Regions from separate parts of the Homo sapiens genome. Here region 1 is linked to region 2. Evidence: promoter capture Hi-C in 16 types of primary human blood cells and fetal thymus (Javierre and others, 2016). All regions are on one chromosome and are shown on one strand. The core of a region is centred on a gene start or on the middle of the fragment in contact, and the rest is flanking DNA. Distances in the headings are between cores, read along the strand shown.

Region 1 (5,806 bases), core at 1-2,500, 510 kb after region 2:
CTAGGCCTCTTAGAAACTGGCGCATCAGATCCTAGTTTCAAAGGGGAGGTACAGATGCACTGGAAACTAGGCACCATACCTGAAATCCCAGAAGGTTCTACTACAAAGGTCCCAATCCACCTCTCAATGCCTACCAACCCCACTCACCTTGATCGTTTCGGCTGGCAAGCCTGGTGGGGGTGCCTTGTCCAGATATGTCCTTAGGTCCTGGTCTACATGCTCAAACACCAGGGTTACCTTGATCTCCCGGTCAGTTCGGGATGTGGCACAGACGTCCATCAGCCTGACCAGAGTAAATGCTCACTTTTCAATCCCCTTTAACCCAACATGGCCTCTCATTATTTCCTCAGGGTCCCCACTTCTCTACAGATCATCACACCCCACCTATAGGCTGTCTTTTCCCTTTACTCCCCACGCCCAACCCTCCACCACCTTCTCACCGGACAACATTGGGATGCTCAAAAGCCTCCAGTCGCCTCAGTAAAGCCACCTCACGAACTGTGCTGATGGGAAGGCCTCCTCCACCTCCTCCTCCATTGGGGACTCTCACACTCTTGAGGGCCACAAAGTGGCCACTGTGGGGATCACGGGCCTTGTACACTGTCCCATAGGCACCGACACCAATTTCAGCCACTGGCTCATATCGAGAGGTAGCCATTCTCAGATCAAGGGAGACCCTACAATCACAGACTCCTATCACCAAAAGTCGCTTACAGAGTTAGGATGGTATGAGCCTGCAGCAACAAAGGGACTCCCAAAAAAAAAGCGCAAAGAACACCACCAGCATCCCATCCCCCGCTCCCAGTCTTCCTTGGGGCCGGCCCCAGAGATAACACAATGACTCAATACCAACCCCTCCAGCCACGTGAGGCCCTGCAATAGAAAACGCTTTTTCCTTTGGGACAATCGCGCCCCGCACAAAGATCACACATGACACATGCCTTGCATCGAAGATCCTACACCTCAGTCCCTAAAATTATACTTTCCCATGACCACAAAGGCCCCACTTCCCGCCCTTGAGCGACCCTTCCATAACCAGCTCGCGAAACGAACGCGTGGAAAGCTGTGAGGGGGGCGGGCACTGGTTCTCATTCCTGGGAAGGGACTGCACTTACCTCACGCCAGCCCGGGGTGCTGTGGGGGCGGCCCGTTATCGGGGCCCCGGAGCCGGTTCCTACGGCCCCATACACCCGAGCTCGGTCCGGAGCAGCTGGACGCAGAGGGCCCGACCATAGACACAGGCCGCAAGCTAGAGAGGCCCCCTCACCCCCACCCTCACCATGTGACCAGCTGCCAAAGAGGCGCGCGGAAACTGGGAGGGCGGGGCGAACGCCGGACGTTCTGGGCACGTGACCGCCACCCATGCGCTGAGGGGCGGACAGGAGGTGCTTCGACTGGGAGGAGGGCGAAGAGTGTAAGGGGGCGGAGGGGCGATGGCAGCCACGTGATCTGTTGCTATCACACGTGACCGCTTGACATTGCTCTGAGGAGCAGAGGTGTGGCTACGCGGCGGGCACGTGACTGGCTGCCACAACCCCCGCTGCAGGGGGGGAGCGGTGAGGGGGACAAGAGAGGGTGGAGCCCGAGGCGGTGCCATGGCAACCTAGGCCACCCAGAGCCCAACTCCCGGCTGAAGGATTGTCTCACTACCGGTCTGAAGGCTGAACTCCAGTCTCACTACCGGTCTTTCAGCCTGTCTGCATTGGGGAGGGGGTGGGAGTTGGGGTACCAGAGGTGATGCTGTCACCTTTTCGCTCCACCATGAGAAAACATACTCTCATTTGTGTCATTGTTTCATTCATTAATTCTACAACATTTTACTGAGTGCTTGCTTCCAGTGTGTATGTGGGTTTTTATTTTGTTTTTGGTGTCTGTCACTGGCCCTTTAAAGTAGTGGTACGACTATCTATAAAGATGTAGCCAACAATGGGGTCTTCTACAATAGGGAGTAAACAATGCCCATTTGAGGGCAAAACTACGATTAAAGGATGACGGAAGGCAGATTAATACAGTAATCCAACAGGCTCAGTGACAAGGTAATCCTCTCACTTTTCCAACTTCCAAACCTCCCTGGGAGTGTTAATGCAAAGACCTGAGGCCATCTGGCAGAGAAGTTATTGATGAGCAGGAGACAGGAATACTTGACCTTTTAAGTTTTTTTTTTTTTTCCAGTAGGAAGGTTCTATGATTATGTGATATTTGTATGTGTGCATATATGCTTCTATGTATATATGTATGTATATGATATTATTTATCACATCATATATAAGACGGATACAGGATTGCACATGTGCAAGAAAGTTACCACCACACCCCCTGCACCCTCCAGACCACCACAATGAATGAAAATGACATGCCCCCTTCTGCAAACCTTGTGACTACTCATTTGGAGTTATTGTGCTTCCCTCTTTTTCCCTAGTGCCGCTTTCTTAGCACTTAGCACTGTCCAGAACACACTTGTTCCCAAATGGCCTCTGCCCAGACACCTAGGTAGACACAAGTAGATTTCTCCTACTTTGTTTTATTGGCTCCAAGGTCTTTATCTCCCAGCCCTTTGGGGGTATGGGAGTAAAGGAGGAAAGCGGTTAGTGTCTCATTTGTGAGAATTTGTCTAAAATCTAAAGCCATTTTATTACCCTATTTGCCACTCCTTCCACTCTAACTTCTGTTTTCCTTAACCATCTGGCTGAGAATATAAGAGTTCAAACTAGAAGATGAATATAAACCATGACTTAGAGCAAAATAGAATACATATTAATACAGATGCCTCCTCTTTCCATCCTGATACTTGTAGCCCTGGGCCCCTCCTGGCAAGGGCAGCTGGAACACTAGTAAGAAAAACCTCAAGGACTGAACTGACTAAGGGGCTCAAGAGGTGAATGTTTTATTGGCTACCTTGCTAGGGGTGGGTGCTTTGTAAGCCTTCTGGAAGGCTAAGATAATTGTCTGTGAGTTTTTCAAACTCCCTTCCCACACCAGCATTCCCCACTTCAGCCTCACCTTCCACATAAGACCTTCACAGCTTACTGTCTTTGCAACAGAAGACGTCCTCTCTGTCTGCTTGGGTCCCAGCCCCTTTTTCTGATTCATTCATTAGTCCATCCAAAACATTTGAATACTTCATGGGAACATTACTGTCTCTCCATCACTTTCTATTGAGGAACCTTAATTTGGCAGTCTGTCCCAGGCTCTGTCCCCTCCCTTCTTCTGTTAATTACTCTTTCACTAATTAAATTTTTTCCCAGTATGTTTGACCCAATGAGCTCCCCTGGAATCCCTTTTCCCTCAGCTTTGCAAAGGGGAGGAGAGGGAGAATGTAAGTGTAAGAAAGAAAAAAATGTGATGGGGGTAGAACTTGGCCTCAGAGGGAAGTCTCCATAAAAGGAAAGGGGTAAGTGTGTGTATTGTTCACTTCAGTGTAGTGGAGGTGAGGGCAGGAGAGTACCAGGAAAGACACTCCCATCCCTTTAGCACGCCTACCTCCCCTGCTCCCTCCCTCACCTCCTTCACACATTACAATCACAGGCTTCTGTTTCTCAGACAATCCGATTCCATTCCTTACACACCTCTCTTTCCCAGTCCCCATCGATCACACTTTTCAGCCCTTTGGGTAAAGTGTATATTGCTTGAGTCCCACCCCTGCCCATGTACCTCCCTCACACCTCCGACACTTGCACAGCTCTTTCTTTGCACATTCCCATTTTGCACAAGCCTCACCCTCCCTGGTACACCTGCGTCATTTAACCACTCACCTTCCATGCTCACCCGCTCATCCCCCACTCCCAGACACACACCTAGTCAACTTGTGTGCACACTCCCCTTCCTTGGCCACTCCCCTTCCTCCACCCTCCTCGGGATCCCACACTTGCCCCCGCCCCTGGGACACCTGCTCGTGCGGGGCAGGGCGGGGATGCGCAGCCGCGGCCCCTTCTCCTCTCCCCCTCCCCGCCCCGCCCCTCCCTCCATCCTTCACCCGCTCCCCGGCGCCCGCCCCGCCCGCCCGCCACTCCGGGGGGGTCTCCGCCGCCGCCGCCGCCGGAAGGAGCCGCCATTTGCCACCGCCGAGCGCACGGGCCGAGCCAAGCCTGATCCCGGAGCCGGAGGGGGACTGGGACCGAGAGAACGGCGATGGGGGGCGGCCCCGCCGCAGGAGGACCCGGGCGCGTAACCCCGGGGGCCCGGCCCGCTCCAGACCCAGACCCGCGGGGTGCGGCACCCTGAGCCCCCCTCCCCGCCCCCTGCCCTGGCCATGGCCGCCCACCCCGCCGCCCCCGGGCCGCCAGCCCGCTCGGCCCCGCAAGCACCGGAGCCCCGGCGGTGGCAGCAGTGAACGGCTGTCGCAGGCCCCGAAGACCCCGGCCCGGCTCGGCTCTCTAGCGCGCGCCCCCTTCCCGGCCTTGTCCTCTCCCCTCCCCCCGCCGCTAGCGAGCCCCCCTTGCACGCTGCCCCCCGCCCCCGGTGTCCGGACGATGCTCAAGTCTCGGCTCCGCATGTTTCTGAACGAGCTGAAGCTGCTGGTGCTGACAGGCGGGGGGCGGCCCCGGGCCGAGCCGCAACCCCGGGGGGGCCGGGGAGGCGGCTGCGGCTGGGCGCCCTTCGCTGGCTGCTCCACCCGGGACGGCGACGGCGACGAGGAGGAGTACTACGGGTCGGAGCCGCGGGCCCGGGGCCTGGCCGGCGACAAGGAGCCGCGGGCCGGACCCCTGCCGCCGCCCGCGCCGCCGCTGCCGCCCCCGGGCGCGCTGGACGCCCTGTCGCTCAGCAGTAGCCTGGACAGCGGACTCCGAACCCCTCAGTGCCGGATCTGCTTCCAGGGCCCGGAGCAGGTCAGGCCTGGGCACCTGGCCGGGCGCGGAGGGTGGAGGCGCGCACCTGGGGTGTCAGCGGAGACCGCGAGCAGGCGCGGCGCCTAAGGAGGCTGGGCGGGCCCCAGGACACGGAGTGGGAATGGGGTGAGGCCGAGGGGCTGGCAGGGGACTCCTGGAGCGCTTGTTTGTGTCGGAGGGTCAAGGGTCCCCAGGAAGGGGTGGGGCTTTCTCCCCGGAGAGCGCAAAATCCCTCTCACCCATTAACAGGGACTGCTGTTCTCTCCTATTTCCCTCGCCCCAGGGTCTCCGTAAGCTAAGGGGACCTGTTCTCTTGCAGGTGGGCAGAAAGGAGAGTGCTTCTGTGCCCCCCTTGAAGGGAGGGGCCCAGCCAGCGCCCTTGCTTAGCTCAGTATTTCTCCCCGTGGGGCACTTTTTTTCACTTCCCATTCTGCAACTTTCTATCTCATTCTAAAGAGTATTCTTTGTTAAAATTTTATGGGCAAAGTTGTCCCAGAATAGTGCCAGGGGGTGTCTCTGTGTAGTGAGAATTGATTCCATGATTAAAGGGAAACACCCTTCACTCCCACCTCCGCGATTTCTCCCCTTTTTAGTACGTGGAAACCGAGGACCATAACCCATCCCAGTTTGCGCCAGATCTGTGAAGTAACTTTACAATGATGGGGTGGGGGAAGGAAAGCATGGCTCAGAAGCTCTAACACTCCCCTCCCTCCAGATCCTAAGAGGAAGCCTTTCTTTTGAGAAGTCTTAAAGACTACCCATCCCAAATTCTAGGAAAAGAGAAGACCCAGCCCTTCTCCCCTCTAATCCCCCCATCCCTTTCCATCTTTCATCTCTTTGGTATGGGAAGTTTCCCTTGATCTCCAAGGGAAGCTTCTTTTCTGTTGCAGCCTTACTTAGCCTCTTGCCCTGTCTTGGGTGAAAGGCCTGAGTTATTTAAGGTGGGAAAGTGACCTGAAGAGGAGGTTTCCCTGTCGGGG
Region 2 (5,571 bases), core at 2,588-5,087:
GGTACCCTAGCACCCCTCCTTCTAGTTCAGCACAGCCTGTTTCCCCGCTTTTCCCGCCCCCCTTCTCTCGGGCCCTTTGCTTAATTTCCTATTAACTGCTGATAAATCCAATTAAACCGCCGCTCTAATTAGGGACAGCTGCCGGCTCAGTGAGGCTAGGGAGGGGGGCGCCCCCCGAGTGTTGGGGGAGAACAGCCGCTCTCCCTGCTTCTCGGCATCCGCACACCAGCATTGCCGCCCAATGAGCCAGTAAATTGGTTTTGCCTTAGCATTGGCGGGGGTCTCTCGAGGATCTCGGGGGGCTCTGATTTTGAGTCCCTCAGACCTTGATGAATAGAGACGACCCGAGCCCTCGCGGTCCCTCCCCTCATACATTCCTGGTAGGTGGATTTCAAGGAAGGATAAGGACAGAATGCTTGATTTGCGTGTGGTTGGTGTGTGTGTTTGCCTGTGATCTGTTCCTATTCCAGCTCAATCGCGATTAAAGGGGGGGGTCTTCTTTAATGACTCCGCCCCCACCCCCTCAGGCATCCGGGACCGTCAAGGGCAAAGGGAACAGAAAACTGAACCCGGTTCTGCAGAGTCTTCTTGTGTGCTTCCCTACCCCCATCACACCTCAGCCTTCTGGAAGGGGGGCGCGCCCGTCCCAGGCCTCCTCTTCCCCAGCCCAGCTGAGCCTCTGCCCTCCCCCCGCCAGCAGCAGATGGTGCCCGGGCTCCCGCTGCCAACCTTGCTAGGCGGTGCCAACCTCGGTCCTGGCAGACAACGGGCAGACGAGAAGAGGAGCTCCTGGCTGGCCAAGCCGACCCTCCCCCACCCGGCATCGAGCTCAAGACCCCCCCCACACACGCCTGCCCCACTCCAGCGACCACCCCAGCCTGCCTCTCACTGGGTCCGCTCTCAGGTCCCCAAACTCCTCGTCTCCTTCTGCTCCCTTCCCCACACCTTCCTGCTCCTCGCCACCTGCCGCCCTGACCAGGGCCGGCGTATTTGCATATTTGCATATGCAAATAATAACATTTGCATACGGTGCTCCGCAGGGGTGTCTCCGCGAGAGCCGGTTAGCTGTCTGCCCTCCGTTCTCACTCGGTACCTGTCGGAAAGGGTTAGGGCAGGGGCCGCGCGGGTGGGGTTAGGCCCCCGGCCTAGCTAGCTCGGTTCTCGGAGGACTTGAGGAAGTGTTGCCATGGAGACGGCACGCACCCCACCCCCTCCCAGGCCCAGGGTCTCGGGCTTGGTGTCTCTGGTTGTCTCCCCTTACCCACCCTCCACCCCCTCCCCATCCCTCGCTCTCCAACCGAGATCTTGCATCGCCCCCTGGCGGCCTAGCTCGGCGCCAAGCCAGATTCCGAAATGCAAGGGGCTGCCTGCGGCTAAATCGCCAAGAGCAAGGGGGGACTTACCCTACTACAAGATCCTGCTCCCAACCGCTGGGGCGCGGGGGCGGCGACTCCAGCCCTGCGCTCCCCTTTCTTTACTGACTACAGAGGCCTCACCTGGCGGGCGCACTTCCCACCTCCCGCCAACCTCAGCCCAGATGGGTCTCAGGTTACCCGATGGTAACGAGGCGGGACAGCTAGGGAGGATTCTCCACCCCTCCGCAGGCCCTCTCCTCAACCCCAGTTAAATAACAACTTTTCTAAGTTTTGTCAAAAGTTTAATAAATTCGCAACATTCGACAGTTCGCCCTCCCTCGCCCCCGCCCCCCGCCCCAGTCCCTGGCTCCTCCTAGTAGATACGCGTTTTTTTCCAGCTCTTGCAAGCGGGGCCTGAAAGGTTTCGGGTCCGGGCTGCTCTGGGCAGCAGGTATCCGAGGCCCCAGGCTGGGGAAGGGGGCGAGAACCAGTCCCTTCCCGGAAGCCCCGTCGCGCTCAGGCGGGCCTTCCTACCCCTCCTCTCCCAGCAGTCCCGTTGCTTTCGCCCCCCTCCCCAAACTCCACTGGGCCCGCCCAGAATGGGGTGTGGGTGTCTCCCGCTTGCAGGCGCCCGCACGCCTAAATTTCCTCTAGAAAGTCGGTGGGAAACAGCCCCACCTTGCGGCCGGTGTAGACCTTGACGTAGCCGCCCGCTTCGTCTCCTTTCTGCACCACGATCTAGAAGATTAAAGGATCAGAAGTAGGAGAGGAATCAAAGGAAAAGGTAGGAGAGGACAGCAGGGGAGCCGGGGTTTACAGGGGCTCACCCTAGTCTTATTAATGGTTAAGCTCTCCAAGGAGTGTGGTGGGCTAGGGAGCATTCAGGCCTGGGATTGGGTTGGGGCAACAGCCTACCTGGTCCTTCTTGAGAGTGATCTGCCCTATCTCGCGGTTCCCCACGAAGGATCTCGTCACGCGGTGCACACGTTCTCCAGCCCGGACCCGAATGATGAAGTTTGGAGGGAAAAATCCGACCTTCTCCCCGATTTTCCCCTAGGGAAGATAGTAGGGAGAGTCCATCTCTCAATGTCGGGTTCTGGACTCAACCCACACTCCACCCTAGCCCTAGCCATTTCTCTCACCCGCCACCATTCTTCATTGGAGTCATCAATGACTGTGATCTTCTCTCCTGGCCTGGGAGGGGAAGGGAGGGGCCTCACTCACATAGCAGGTCCCCTGCTGTGCCCCGGGTCCAGCATCAATAGGCTCCAAGCCCTGAGTCCCCCCTTTTCCTTTCCCTTGGGGGAACCCAGCTCTTTCCTCTTCACTCCGCAGTACCAGCCCCCTGCCCCAAGGCCTCTCACGGGAAATCCAGATCGTCCTTCTCCAGGGCTTTGAACCGATAGAGAGCCACAAAGTAATGAGACTGCTGGAAGCCAGGCTGCTTGTGCTGGGGGTGCAAGGGAATGATGAGTCTTAGGGCTCCTCTACCCCACACTGAGGGGCAGGATTCCAAGGCAGGGACATTCACCACACACTCTACACTCCAACTCTCTTCTAGGTCCCTGAACTGAGAGAAGTGTTTTGGTCGTGGGTGGGTGTGCAAGTTGATGGAGAGTGTGGGTCAGAAGTGATGGGAAGCCTAGGAGTTAAAGAGTGAGCTTCTGCCAGGGCCATGAGTAGTGGTGTCAGAGCTGGGTTGGGGAGAGAACTGGGTTCCTTGCAGGGAGGAAGGATTCTTACCTTGTCATCAGGTGTCTTCTTCTCAGCCTTCTTATCCCCTTCAGGGTTTCCTGGGATAGGAAACACCAACAAATTGTCTGTCTCCTGGAGGGCAATTCTTATTCTCTTACCCTTTTGTGGAAGGGCCTCGTCTATCCAAAGCTGGCCTGCCCTTTGCTCCTCCACCCTCTGTTCCACAGCTGAGCCTCTGATCCTACTCCATCTCTGGATGGAGGTGGGTAACACTCACCATCCTGGGGTTTGCCTTCCTCTGGTCTGGCCGACTCTGGCTCCTCCTCCATCATGGCTGCTACAGGCTGGAGGGGGCACCAGAGTTAGGGAGACGCTGTCTTGGGAACACATGCCCTGGCTGTCTATAATCAGGTCAGAGAACTATAGAATAATGGGATCTCAGAGATCTCAGAGTTGGAAGAGGCCTTGGAGGAAATATCTAGTTCAGCCATCTGCCTAATGCAGGAACTTTTTTTTTTTTTTTGAGACGGGTCTCCCTCCGTCACCCAGGCTGGAGTGCAGTGGCGCAATCTTGGCTCAGTGCCAGCTCCGCCTCCAGGTTCACGCCATTCTCCTGCCACAGCCTCCTGAGTAGCTGGGACTACAGGCGCCTGCCACCACGCCCGGCTAATTTTTTGTATTTTTAGTAGAGACGGGGTTTCACCGTGTTAGCCAGGATGATCTCAATCTCCTGACCTCGTGATCCACCAGCCTCGGCCTCCCAAAGTGCTGGGATTACAGGCGTGACCCACTGTGCCCGGCCATGCAGGGACTTTCCCTAAAACATCCTATCAGGTGGGTCACCCACATTCTGCTTGAATGTAGCTAAATAACAGGGAATTCACTACCAGATTCCAGGTCCTTGACTATGCTGTCAGCCTTTAAAAATACTCCAGTGTGTAAGTAAAAAGTGAGCAGCATGGTCAGGCGCGGTGGCTTATGCTTGTAATCCCAGCACTTTGGGAGGCCGAGGTGGGCGGATCACCTGAGGTCGGGAGTTCGAGACCAGCCTGACCAACATGGAGAAATCTCCTCTCTACTAAAAATACAAAATTAGCCAGGCATGGTGGCACATGCCTGTAATCCCAGCTACTCGGGAGGCTGAGGCAGGATAATCGCTTGGACCCGGGAGGCAGAGTTTGCGGTGAGCCGAGATCGTGCCATTGCACTCCAGCCTGGGCAACAAGAGCGAAACTCTATCTCAAAAAAAAAAAAAAAAAAAAAAAGAGCAGCACAATTTTTATAATTCCCTTAAAAGAATATAACCCAAGAGTATGTTAGCCCTTCTGGAAGCAGCCATATCACATTGCTAGTGCCTTACAAGTCATTAATTCACTCCATAGAAATCCCTTATCTGTGTCCAACCTCCATATCAACAAGTTTGAGGCCAGATTTCTAGTTGTTTTTTGCAGTTGATTTTTTTGATCAGATATGTACATTTATCTTTTCTTTTCCCTTCCTTCCTTCCTTTCCTTCCTTCCTTCCTTTTTTTTTTTTCTTGACAGGGTCTCACTTTCTCCCCCAGGCTGGAGTGCAGTGGCTTACTGCAACCTCTGCCTCCCGGGTTCAAGCGATTCTCCTGCCTCAGCCTCCCAAGTAGCTGGGATTACAAGCGAGCACCACCACACCCGGATTTTTTATTTTTATTTTTGTATTTTTAGTAGAGACAGGGTTTCACCACGTTGGCCAGGCAGGTTTCGAACTCCTGACCTCAGGTAATCTGCCCACCTCGGCCTCCCAAAGTGCTGGGATTACAGGCGTGAGCCACCATGCCTGGCCGAGTTTTGTGCAATTTTAGGGGAAGACAATCCATTACTTCTGTCAGCTTTCCAAATGGGAAAATGACCTGCTCCATGGGATCTCTGGGAGGGACCTCGTGGGGAGGTACAGTGCTCACATTTTTCTTATCTGCCTGTCCCTTCTTCCGTTCCTTGTTTGCCATGATCACCCCAGTGCGCAGGGTTTCAAACACAGGATCATTGCGATTGGCAGCAGCTAATCGAATGGGAGGAGAAAGAAGACATTATTGGGAAGGCAGAGAAAGGCTTGGAGGAAAGGAAGGGAGAGGTGGGATTGAGTAGATGGATACCCATGTGTGTGTTGGGTGGCGGTGGGGGCGCCGCGGGGAAGATTAGGGAAGGGTCAGCTAGGCAATACCCAGGACACCAATCTATAAAGGACTTTAAAAACATCACTGGTGATGTAAAGTGAGGGAGGAAAGTATTTATTAGAACTCCTTCCAGGCAGAGCATTATATGATGTTTGAAACACAACTTTGCTTGCTTGGGAGCTGAGACATGCGCAGAATCACTATTCTCCTTCTAAGGAGAATGGGCCCTTAACTGCTGGCTTTTGTTCTGCTAAATGGCATGTGTAAGCTGAGGTGCTGCCACCAATAGGTTCTTCTTTTTCACCCATGCTCTTCACAGAGTTCAGCCTCTCCTCCAAATAAATGTTGAGCAAATTTGTCAATGAATATGTT

The links. Contacts are between HindIII fragments. The CHiCAGO score rates a contact against its expected background, and 5 or more counts as called.
Region 1: a contact is called between the fragment with the promoter of CDK4 here and a fragment that was not itself captured in region 2, in 1 of 17 cell types (neutrophils). The highest score is 5.6, in neutrophils.

The regions. Positions count from the first base shown.
Region 1 is chr12:57,751,060-57,756,865 of GRCh38, forward strand. It overlaps CDK4 (cyclin dependent kinase 4), which reads right to left and starts at 1,251. Exons shown (of 8, transcript NM_000075.4): 1 at 1,116-1,251; 2 at 441-677; 3 at 148-283; 4 at 1-31. The coding sequence starts at 658. MARCHF9 (membrane associated ring-CH-type finger 9) reads left to right here and starts at 4,044. Exons shown (of 4, transcript NM_138396.6): 1 at 4,044-4,826. The coding sequence starts at 4,470. RefSeq lists silencers at 401-540, 1,271-1,350, 1,581-1,700, 3,807-4,046, 4,487-4,586 and 1 more and an enhancer at 877-1,610. The HindIII fragment of the contact is 8,675 bases long and covers 1-5,697 here.
Region 2 is chr12:57,241,818-57,247,388 of GRCh38, forward strand. It overlaps STAC3 (SH3 and cysteine rich domain 3), which reads right to left. Exons shown (of 12, transcript NM_145064.3): 6 at 4,987-5,084; 7 at 3,328-3,394; 8 at 3,099-3,148; 9 at 2,720-2,805; 10 at 2,498-2,549; 11 at 2,271-2,408; 12 at 1,641-2,093. The coding sequence ends at 1,995. Among named protein-coding and RNA genes, the nearest start is that of STAC3, 6.6 kb to the right of the region's middle. RefSeq lists an enhancer at 411-1,314. The HindIII fragment of the contact is 8,886 bases long and covers 1-5,571 here.